Regions from separate parts of the Homo sapiens genome. Here regions 2 and 3 are each linked to region 1. The links are contacts of gene promoters, found by promoter capture Hi-C in blood cells and fetal thymus (Javierre and others, 2016). All regions are on one chromosome and are shown on one strand. Each heading gives the region's core, a stretch centred on a gene start or on the middle of the fragment in contact. The rest is flanking DNA. Distances are from core to core; before and after follow the strand shown. Region 1 holds the start of CDK13 (cyclin dependent kinase 13). Region 2 has its middle 2.2 kb from the start of STARD3NL. Region 3 overlaps TRG-AS1 (T cell receptor gamma locus antisense RNA 1).

Region 1 (3,892 bases), core at 1-2,500:
CTCCTTGGACGACTTAGTCCGGCTGCGGTGGGCCTTCGAGTCCCGGTCCTTGCGGCTGCTACTGCTGCTGGATGTGGCCGAAGCGCTTTTCCGGCGGCCGCCGCTGCTGCTGCTGCTGCCGCTCTTGGCGACCTCGGCCCGTTCCTCGCCGCTGTGGCTGTGGCGGCTGCGGGACTTGGAGGCCTCGCTGCCACCGCGCTGCCCATCCCGCCGCCGGTGCTCGCGGTGGCGCTCCTTGCTGCGGCCACTGCTGCTGCGGCGGTCCCGGCGGGGCCTGCGCTCCGACCCCTCCCCGCGCCGCTGGGTGCCGGAGGAGGAGGCCGGACTCCCGCCGCTGCCCCCCGTTCCCCCGGCAGCCGTCGCCGCCGTTGCCGCGCTGGCCCCCCCCAGCAGCAGCCCCTGCTCGGACTGGGAGCTCACATCCTCGTATTCCACCAGCGGGGTCACACCCCCGCCGCTACTAGCACCGCCACCGCCGTCCTGCTGCGGCTGGGGCAGCGAGAAGACCCGACGCTTCTCCGCCTCCTGCCCGGCGCGGGGCCCGCGACGCCGCTTCTGCCGCCCTCCTGCGCGCCTCTTGCCTCTCGCCAGCCGCTTGACCTCCAGAGGGGGGCCCGGGCTGAAGCAAGAGGAGGAGGCCGCGGCGGCGGCGGCTGCGGCGGCGGCCGTGCCGGGAGCAGCCAGGAAGAGCAGAGGCGGCGGGGGCGGCGGCGGTTGCAGGAGCTGCGGCTGCAGGAGCGGCAACAGCAGCGGCGGCTGCTGAGGGGACAGGAATCGCCTCCGCTTGCGGCGTTCCTCCAACTTCTTCTCCGCCCAGCTCAGGCCCCCGCCTCCCCCCAGCGCCGTGTCCGAGCTGCTCGGCATCGCCTAGAGCCAGCCGCAGAGCGCGGCGCGGGTGCGGCCTCCTCCCGGGTCAGATCCTGGCCATCTCCCCCGCCGGAAACGGGAGCGGCGGCGGAGGGACACCGAGCACCAGAGCCGGCCGGGAAAAGCGCCACGATAATCCGGGTCGGGACTCGGGTCCCTGGGTTCCAGGTCACAGTGGGGTACGCAGCAGCCTCCGGGCCCCAGGGAAGCAGGAATCCGGGCGGCGGAGCTCCCGATTGCGCTCGTCGTCCTATCCTCGGCAGCGAAAACACCAGATGCGCCGGGCGCTGACCTGCGGGGGAGTCCCGAGTCCTCCAAGTGCCCCCGGGGGTGGGGGAGCGGCCTTGGCCGCGCTCTCGGCTCGGGCAGCGCAACGCGGAAGTACCACCTTCGTCGCCGCTTCACTCCATCGCGCCCTGACGTTGGGTGCAAGTTCAGGGGAGGGGAGTGGGCGAGACAACAACACGCCTCCACCGCCTCCTCCTCGGCGTCGACGTCGTCCTCCTGTGGTGGCGGCGACACACCGCAGGCGCCTCGGAAGTGGCCTGGGCCTGACAACAACTCCCGGCCTAGGGCCTCGCGCACTCTGCGGCCCGCGGGGCTGGGCAGCGGGGCGGGGCGAGGCGGGGGCGACCGGGCTGCGGCTCTCGGTTGGGGCAGCGACTGTGCGGGGCTGGGCGGGGGGCTATTTCCGGGGAGATGGGGGCAGGGGCGTTTCTGAGTCTGTGGCGGTAGGTACGGGCCCTGACTTTCTTCTTCTTTCGCCGCCGCCGCCGCCGCCAGCAGAGGTGGCGGAGCTACCCCTTTCCTCCGCTCCCCCCCTCCACGAGGAGGCTCCTGGTGTGCGCGGCCTGCCCCGGCTCGCTCCTCCCCTTCCCTCTCCGCTCCTCGTCAGGAGGAGGGAGAGCAACGGGACTTGCTGGTTGGGCCCTAACCTCCACAACCCCTCCTTCTCGCCTCGCTCTTTCGGCTTTTCCCCTCAGCCCTGACGTACGACCGGGAGCGCGCCCGCAATTCACGCTCAGAGAAAGCCGAAGATGAGAGGTGGCCGGGGCAAGAGAGGCGGGAACAAAGTTACCGCGCACTGGCGTGCTCGCTCCCGCCAGGGGCCGGCAGGCCGCACCGGAAGTGGCATGATGTAGAAACCGCTCGGCTTCCGGCGAGGGTGGGACTCCGTGTGAAGAAGGGTTAAAGAAAGGAGAGGATTCGTGTGCCGCCCACTGCTGTTGCTTGAGACTCTGCCCGTGGTGGCGCGCCTGTCGTGCTTGTTGCTTGCGTCCAGCGCGCAGTGCCGGTTCCGGCTCTGCAGACGCCGCACTGCCTGCCTGTTGAGCGAAAGGTCACAGTGAGAACAAGTGTTTCTGGAGACTGCGAGGGAAATAATGCTGTTGGTGGCCTTCTGGAGTAGGCAGTTACCCCCCGTGTACCTTCAGTCAAGCCCTGGGAGTGGAACAGCTGCGAAAGGAGAGAAAACACCCCGCAAAACAGGGTGGAGATGGCGTTGGTTTAACTTGTCTCACGTACGCCAAAGTTCGAGGCCCCATTTTTTTTTTTTTTTTTTTTGAGACTGAGTTTCGCTCTCGTTGCCCAGGCTGGAGTGCAATGGTGCGATCTCGGCTCACCGCAACTTCCGCGAGGCCCCTTCTTATCCTAAAAAACACACTTGGGAATCACAGCTCAAGCTTCGGTAACACTATTTACTTTAAAATAAAAATTTTTAAAGCTTTAAATCAATACAGGAAATAAGTGGAATGTTAAAAGGAACTACTGAAAATTCCAAATTCTCAGGAGGCTTGAAATAAAAACATCTTGTGCGAATGAGGACTGCCCTCTTAGTACTTCACCCACTTTCACCTTCATATCTAAACCTTTGGGGTTGCCAAACATAGCCATATAGTGACCTCACATCTCATTTCTTGCCTTAGAATTGCCCTTCAGTTACAGACTAAGCACTCGGGATAATTAGATTAAAATGTAAATGGCTTATTGGCTTTTAGAATGGTTGGAAACGCAAGCTAACCCTGTGCAGTGGCACACGCCTGTAGTCCCAGCTACTCCGGAGGCTGAGGCAGGAGGATCTCTGGAGCTCAAGAGTTCGAGGCTGGAGTGAGCCATGACCGTGCCACAGCACCCCAGCCTGGCCAATCAGCAGGGCGAGGCCCTGCCTCTAATAAAAGAAAAAGCTAAGCCGTCTGTTCAATGACTAAATGTAGTAACCCCTTTGAAAATTCATTTGTTCAGATCATCAGTTGGTTTAGTTCTTAAACACTTGGTATCTATCCATCGTTAATACCTTAGTGTAAATTATTTTAATCAGTTTGACATCACAGTATCACAGACTGGCCTGATTTAAGCTAAGATCAGACTTCACTGACCGAGTACAAAGGATGTTGGTTTGCTGAAGGATAAAGGAGGAGGCAAAGGAATAGGTAATCTTAAAGTCAGAGCATTTCCCAGGAGGGCAGGCCTGGGTGGGCAACACCATGGGATGGGCATTGGGAAACTGAATAGAAAAATAGGGGGCAGGGTTCCTAAAACAAATTTCTGGTTGACAGTATTGTTGAGTGAAGGTCCTGTAGCCAGCCTCCTACCAAAGACTGTTTAGCAAGTGGCTTTTTCAGAAACATGTAGGATCAACTTGTTCCATCGTCCTACGTTAGATAGACTGGAATAACAGAACAAAGAGAGCAAATAAGAGGTTTAGCTTGCAGCTCCCCTCGTGTACAACCAGTTCCACTTGAGAATGTCATCTTCTATCATATATTTTCAAAGAAAACTTGATCCATAGTAAATGGATAATTCCCATGTGTAAGTGTATTAAATGGAGAAGAAGGGAAAAAAAGTAAATGGATAGTTCCCAATCCAGGGTGCAAACAAAAAACATGTACTAAAATATTTTTACTGTGGTTCTACCACCCACGTTTCCTCAAAGATTCTACCTTTGGTGGGGGAGGTTGAATGAACATTTTGAGCTCAAGATACCTGCCCACGTGGTTGGAAACACTAATAACTAATAGGATTCAAA
Region 2 (3,892 bases), core at 538-3,037, 1.8 Mb after region 1:
CGGTTTAACAAGCGCCCGCTTCCTCTTCGTCCGCGTTTCTGCGCCTTCCGCTTCCCTTCAGTTATTCGGTGGGGGTTTATGCTCCAGCTCGTGGGAAAATGTCATGGAAATGGGTTTCAGGGCCTCTTGGGCACCTCATGCTGAGCCCTCCAGGAATAAAAACAGGGCATACCATTTCTATGTCGGTACTCAGCTCAAGAGTCACCTCTTCTAACTCTCACTTCCCCCAGACCTATTTAGGATACCTTTTCTCAGCGCTCCTAGTTCATAACTAACATCTCTAAGCGGTAGTCACATTTAATTATATCTATATGTCTGTTTTCACACGAAGTTAGGCACCTTTTATTGTTTTATTTAAAATTTAATTAAACTTTTCTCCCAACGGATGCTACACTTATTCACATTTTTAGAAGTACAGAGGTATACAGTGAACATTCTTTGGATCCCCATTTCATTATTTGTATATTTTTCCAAAGTCATTCTAAGTACCGTTATTAATTTTAAATTACACAAGTAAGATTTTGTCCATGCGAAAAAAAAAAAAAGCTTAAACGTTACAATTATGCTTATATCCCTTTTAGGCCCTAATTACAAACCCAGTCTGTAGATGATGACTCCTAGTTCCTGTGCATTTGCAAGTGTAGATGTTACTTTTTTACACTTAGCATTGAAATCTTTCCATATCTGTATATAAATCTACCTCATTCTCTGAAAATGCTGCATGTCCTCAGAACCAATATGTGTATATATATACATACATAATTAATGTACCATTCCCCCACCCTCACGTTTGTTTATTAATATTATTATGAGAAGCAATGGTACCATAAATATATATGTAGATGCCTTTTTGTACTTAGGTCCAAGTATTTCTCTAGAGTGCAGATACCAACAAGAGAATGTACTGGATCACAGAGTTTGCACGATGTAAATCCTTAATAGATTTCACTGATTTGCTCCCCTGAGTAGTTGTTTTAACTTACATTCCCACTGCTAGTATTTGAGCAATTTTTCCCTGTATCCTCGCCAATACTGATAAAATACAATTTAAAAAAATTTTATAAACTGATAGATGTGAAAACCTTTTAAAGCATAACACATATACAAAATAAGTGTAATAATCATAAGTGCTTGTCTTAGTGACAGTGTGAACAAACTTGTGTAACCACCGCCTCACAGCAAAATTTTAAATGTTTACCAGCAATTTAGAAGCTTTCCTCATGCTCAGTCTTAGTCATTATACCCCTACACACAGATAGGCACAATTCTGAATCCTACCACCCAATTAGTTTTGCCTGCTTCTGAATGTTTATAAATAGTCATACATAATACGCACTCTTATGTGGCTCTTTTTGCTTAATACTATATTTGTAAGATTGATCCATATTCAAGAATATAATAGTTTCATTTTCATTTTTGTATATAATTCTAAAATTTACTTGCCTATTCTACTGTTGTTTGACATTAGATTATTTAAAGTTTGGGGTAATTACAAATGACGCTGCTATGAATATTCTTGTACCTGTCTTATGATGCACATAGTTACACATTTGATTTTGGAAGATCCCTGGAAGTAGTGTTACTATGCACAGGGTATATATTCAATATATTCAACATTAATAGACACTGCCAAATAGTTTTTAGGTTTTACTAATTTATACATGCCCTAGTCGTGAATGAAAATTTCAGTTACTCTGCATCTTTGCCAACACTTACTATACTCATTTGTGTTTTGTGTTCTTCCTTTTTCTTTTCCTTTTTAAATGTTATACATTCTGGTGAATATGTAGAGGCATCACATTGTGGATTTAATTGCATTCACTCATGTGTAGCCTCTGAAGTCTCAAAGAAATTGATGGAAACCATTCCTAAGGAAGCCCAGATAGTGGACTTATTAGATAATGATTTAAGTCAACTGTCTTACATATGCTCAAAGAACTAAAGGAAACTGAGAGATGAAGCCGGCTGGGCTTCTAGGTTGGGTGGGGACTTGGAGAACTTTTCTGTCTAGCTAAAGGATTGTAAACACACCAATCAGCACTCTGTGTCTAGCTAAAGGTTTGTAAATGCACCAATTAGCACTCTGTGTCTGGCTAATCGGGTGGGGACTTGGAGAACTTTTCTGTCAAGCTAAAGGATTGTAGATGCACCAATCAGCACTCTGTGTCTGGCTAAAGGTTTGTAAACGCACCAGTCAGCACTCTGTAAAAACGGACCAATCAGCACTCTGTAAATGGACCAATCAGCGCTCTGTAAAATGGACCAATCAGCAGGATGTGAGTGTGGCCAAATAAGGGAATAGAAGCAGGCCACCCGAGCCAGTAGCAGCAACCCACCTCGACTTCCACACTGTGGAAGCTTTGTTCTTTCGCTCTTTGCAATAGATCTTGCTGCTGCTCACTCTTTGGGTCCGCATTACCTTTATGAGTTGTAATACTCACCGCAAATGTCTGCAGCTTCACTCCTGAAGCCGGGGAGACCACGAACCCAACAGGAGGAATGAACAACTCCAGATGCGCTGCTTTAAGAGTTGTAACACTCACTGCGAAGGTCTGCAGCTTCACTCCTGAAGTCAGCGAGACCACGAACCCACCGGGAGAAACAAACAACTCTGGATATGCCACCTTAAAGAGCTGTAACACTTACTGTGAAGATCTGTGGCTTCACTCCTGAAGTCAGCAAGACCATGAACCCTCCAGAAGGAACAAACTCTGGACACACCATCTTTAAGAACTGTAACACTCACCGTGAGGGTCCGCAGCTTTATTCATGAAGTCAGCGAGACCAAGAAACTCACCAATTCTAGACACAAAACCAAGAACATAAAACCTGAAGGAAACTAGGGTAATGATGTATAAACAAAAGGAAAATATCAATAAAAAGATAGAAATTATCAAAAGGAACCAAATAGAAAATCTTGGGCTTGCAAGTACAAATAAGTGAAGTGAAAACTTCACTTGAGAATTTCAAGAAACATTTTCGCATGTTGAAGGATGAATCAGTAAACTTTAAGATAGGAAAACTGAAATTATCCAGTCTTAGGAGCAGAAAGAAATAACAGGAAAATGAGCAAAGCCTAAGGAACCTATGGGATATCAACAAGGATACCGAAATATATATTACAGAAGTCACACAAGGAAAAGAGAGAAAAAGAAAAACTACATTAGCGGAGAAAAATGTCTCAGAACTCCCCAAATTTGAAAAGAGAAAGATAAGATTCAATTAAATAAAATGAGAAATGAAAGTGAAGACATTATATCAAACTTATATATGGAAAAAGGATTGTAAGATTTGACTGTGAACAGTTGTGTGCTGACAAATAACCTGAATGAAAAGGACATGTTCCTAGAAACACAGAAATTACCAAAACTAACTCAAGAAAAAATAGGAACTATAACCAGATCTATAACAAAGAGATTTAATCAGTCCTTTAAAAACAACAACAACAAAACCTTAAAAAACAAAAGTCAAAGACCAGATGGCTTCACTGGTGAATTCTACTGGACATTTAAAGAATTAACACCAATCCTTCTCAAACTCTTCCAAAAAATTGAAGAGGTGGGAACACTTCCTAACTGAATCTATGAGGCCACTAGTATTCTCATACCAAAGCCAGACAAAGACACCATAAGAAAACTAGAGACCAATATTCCTATATGAATATAGACTCAAAATCCTCAACAAAATATCAGCTATTTGAATCCAAAAGCATATTAAAAGGTTATACACTGTGACCAAGTGGGGTATATCCTAGTAATGGAAGGGTGGTTCAACAAAAGAGAATCAGTTTGCTTAACACATCATAATAATAAAATGAAAGAAACCATGTGATCATGTCAATTGACACAGAGCATTTGAAAAAAATCAACATTGTTTCTTGATAAAAACACTC
Region 3 (3,892 bases), core at 695-3,194, 1.6 Mb after region 1:
GGAGTGCGGTGGCACGATCACAGCTCACTACAGACTTGACCTCCCAGACTCAAGGGATCCTCCCACCTCAGCCTCCCAAGTAGTTGGGACTACAGGCGTGTGCCATCACGTGCAGCTAAATTTTTGTATTTTTTGTGGAGACTGGGTTTCACCATGTTGCTCAGGCTGGTCTGGAACTCCTGGGCTTAACTGATCTGCCTGCCTCGGCCTCCCACAGTGCCGGGATTACAGGCATGAGCCACCGTGCCCAGCCTCATTGATACACATTAAATGCCTACTACGTTCCAGGCCTTGTGCTGTGTGCTCTTGATACTGAGGTGTGTGCCCCCTTAAGCTCATTGAAAACACTATTGACCTGCGTCACTGCGGTCACAAAGTGATACAGAGAGCCCAGACAACCATTTAGAGGTGAGGAAATTCTAATAATTCATGGTAAGCAGATTGTTTCCCATAGTGTTGCTAGGGAACATCTCACAGCAGACTGAAATAGAAATACAAGCAATTGTCTGCGCACTAGAACTTTCTCCCCAAGGCAGTGCTATTTTTTTAAACAATTCTTCTATCATCATCATCATAATGCTGACCTCTTGATATGTAAAGGTACAATTACGAGGAGAAGCAGAAGAACATTTACATCTGTGAGTTTGCACCTCTCTCCCACCATAGTGAGCAGATCACACCCTCAGGACCCCAGAAGACTGGCAAGGAGGACTTGATAGAGACAAAAGGAGAGACACAAGAGGGGACAGAGTGTTCATATGAAGAGGGAGAGGGCATGATATAGAGACAGTGACGGCAACAGAAAGTAGAAAGTTGAAGAGGGACAGAGAGCAGAGTGGAAGTGAGAAGGAAAGAAAATGACTAGGACAGTGGCCATACAAGCAAAAAGAGCAAGAGACAGAGACACGTGGAGAGGTATAGTTCTCTATCATGGCGGGGGAGAGAGAGAGAAAACAGAGAAAGAAATACAAAACACAGAGAGAGGGTGAGAGACAAAGGGACAGAGAGACAGCGAGAGAGGGAGGGAAGATGGAGAGAGAGAAAACAACAGAGAAGAGAGAGAAACTGTGATATAAATATAGCGACAGGGACAGGGACAGTGATGGAGAGAGACAGAGAAATAGGGAAAGATACAAGAAGAGAGAACTGGAGTTAGGGGGAGAGATAGGGAGAGAGAGAGAACGATAGACCTGTGGAGACAGAAGCATACACGTGGACACACAGAGTGCGGCAGTGTTAGGAAGATAGAGATAAATATACAGAAATAATGGTAAATATTGAGATAGAAAAATATATATAAAGAGAAAAAACAAAGAAATATGCATATTTATATATTGTAAAAATATACATAAATGTATTTATACATGTATAATATGTTATATATAAAATATTATATATATTTCTATACAAAAAATTAGCCGGGTGTGGTGGCGGGCACCTGTAATCCCTGCTACTCGGGAGGCTGAGGTAGGAGAATGGCATGAACCAGGGAGGTGGAGCTTGCAGTGAGCCAAGATCGCGTCACTGCACTCCAGCCTGGGCGACAGAGCGAGATTCCGTCTCAAAAAAAAAAAATTATATGTATTTCTAGCTTTCCTTTTCTCTTCATATATTCTATCTGTCTGTCTGTCTATCCATACTATTGCCACAATAACGCCATGTAGCAAATATCCCAAACTCAGTGGCTTAGCACAATAATCATCTACAAATTCTTACAAATGCGTAGGTTTGCTAGACTGTTCTGCTGATCTAAACCAAGCTCATCTGATCTTGGCTGGGCTTGGCCACATGTCAGGCAGCTGCTGGGTTAGCTGGGAGGGGGACTGCCTGGTCAAAGTGCCTGGGTCTGAATAAATCAGCTCCACTACACACAGGGTTTCATCCTCCAACAGGCTAGCCTGGATTTGTTCTAATGACAATGACAGAAAGCAAAGAGCTAGCAGAAGCACATCAGGCCACTTGAAGCCTCAATTCAGAACTGGAGCCCTATGAGTTCTTCTTGTATTTAAAAAAAAAAAAAGGCGGGGGGCATAAACGGCGCCTCTTAATCGAAGGAGCTTTGACTTATCAAGAATGAGTTCCACTTCTGGAAAATTTGCAGTGAGCCCACACTGCCTTGTCTGGCTCACAAATGCAACTATGAACCCTGAATCTGAGGACTTTGAAAAATAAATGATAGCAAGTCAACTGGAGAAGGAAATCGGAAAGTGAAGCACTATGAATTCCCAGTAAGTTTCTTATTTATTTTTCCTCAATTATCCCCTGGCCTGTACTCAGATAATCAGAGTATATGTACAAAGATAATCTGAAATGCAGAACTGTACACCAGGTGAGGACAGAGAGAAAGGGGGACTCTCTGTGGTCAGAGAGCCCTGGTTTTCTGTTTTTTGTCCTTTTCCATTCTCTCGCAGCCCCCAGGCAATCTGAGTGGCAGTGGCAGCAGCTATGGTGAGCCAGGAGCCTAAAGCTCTTAGGAAAGGGATCCTTCTCTCTGACCAGGGAAGCTGTGGCCCTGAGAGAGAATCCTGGTGGTTTTTGTTCTCTATCCTCTCACCACTTGGCCCTGGAGGGAGACACAATGGTGGGAAATGCAGTGTGCTAAAGCCACACCTGTCTGGCCAGACGACTGGAGGGGCATTTCCTGTGAACTAGAAAGTATTGCAGAGCTTGCAGAGAGAAAGAAGATTAAGCAAGAAACATCATGCAATGATGTCTGGACTCCTGGGCTCACCCACTAGCTGTGCATGCATAAACGTGACCCTAAACAGCTCCAAAGCCAAAGGCCTTGCAAACCGAAGCAGGAGTAGGCACTGCCCAGGTCCTAGAATGGCCACTGGGTGGCGCACACACAGGACAGGTCTGACAAGACAAGTACTGCAAAGGCTGGAAAACGGAACTGACTGGAACTGCCCACCAAACACCAGTAGGAAGTTGTAATCCCTAACTGCGTCAGTTGCCTGCTAACAAAAAAACCCCCTCCACATTCTGTGTAATATTTAAACAATGCCCAGAGCTCTATAACATGATATTCAAAGTGTACAGGATTTAATCCGAAATTACTCCGCATGTGGAGGACGAGGAAAATCTTAGCATCTCCAAACGGAAAAGCCAAACAACAGATGCTAATCCTGACACGACACAGGTGTTGGAATAACAAAGACTTTAAAGGAGCTATAGTGACCACAGGAAGAAATGGAAAGAGAGGAGGAGAGAAGGAGGTAGAAAGTAAATAGATAGGAGAGATACAAATAGAGAAATAGAAAAAGAGATGAATAGAGATAGGCAGATAGAGAGACAGAAACATAAAGATATGAACAGAGTAAGAAACAGGAGCACTAAAGCAAAATAGAGGAGACTGAGAGCTGTAAGAGGGAGCTATAGAAGGAAAAATGTAAAGGGAGGAACAAAAACGGGACAGAGAAAAAAGAAATATGGACATAAAGACGGAGATGGAAGGACATAGTGATAGAAAGCAATGCAGGAGATAGAGAAATAGAATAGTAGAGAGAGAAATAGAGCCAGGGCACGTGAAAGCTATAAAGCAATTCATGGTAGTTGTCTAAATTCAACATATCATTACGGTTGCATAATGCTAATATTCTCATTTTAACATTTCTCCTAAATTTATTGGTTGTAATACTTCCACAAAAGAACTTTCATTCGGCCAGGCACAGTGGCTCACACCTGTAATCCCAGCACATTGGGAGGCCGAGGTGGGTGGATCACTTGAGGTCAGGAGTTCAAGACCAGCCTGGCCCACATGGTGAAACCCCATCTCTATGAAAAATATAAAAATTAGCTAGGTGTGGTGGCGCGTGCCTGTAATCCCAGCTACTTGGGAGGCTGAGGCAGGAGAATTGCTTGAACCCCGGAGGTGGAGATTGCAGTGAGC

What was found. Contacts are between HindIII fragments. The CHiCAGO score rates a contact against its expected background, and 5 or more counts as called.
Region 2: a contact is called between a fragment that was not itself captured here and the fragment with the promoter of CDK13 in region 1, in 1 of 17 cell types (naive CD4 T cells). The highest score is 5.2, in naive CD4 T cells.
Region 3: a contact is called between a fragment that was not itself captured here and the fragment with the promoter of CDK13 in region 1, in 1 of 17 cell types (naive CD8 T cells). The highest score is 6.0, in naive CD8 T cells.

The regions. Positions count from the first base shown.
Region 1 is chr7:39,947,614-39,951,505 of GRCh38, reverse strand. It overlaps CDK13 (cyclin dependent kinase 13), which reads right to left and starts at 1,250. Exons shown (of 14, transcript NM_003718.5): 1 at 1-1,250. The coding sequence starts at 864. CDK13-DT (CDK13 divergent transcript) reads left to right here and starts at 2,087. Exons shown (of 1, transcript NR_158201.1): 1 at 2,087-3,892. RefSeq lists enhancers at 1-42, 1,183-1,462, 963-1,881, 1,933-2,182, 2,253-2,382 and 3 more and silencers at 253-312, 383-672, 1,463-1,692. The HindIII fragment of the contact is 3,453 bases long and covers 1-2,551 here.
Region 2 is chr7:38,174,106-38,177,997 of GRCh38, reverse strand. No RefSeq gene overlaps it. Among named protein-coding and RNA genes, the nearest start is that of STARD3NL, 2.2 kb to the left of the region's middle. RefSeq lists enhancers at 27-106, 1,854-3,053. The HindIII fragment of the contact is 1,146 bases long and covers 1,215-2,360 here.
Region 3 is chr7:38,368,987-38,372,878 of GRCh38, reverse strand. All of the region lies in intron 3 of TRG-AS1 (T cell receptor gamma locus antisense RNA 1), which reads right to left. Among named protein-coding and RNA genes, the nearest start is that of TRG-AS1, 30 kb to the right of the region's middle. RefSeq lists an enhancer at 2,675-2,724. The HindIII fragment of the contact is 4,800 bases long and covers 1-3,892 here.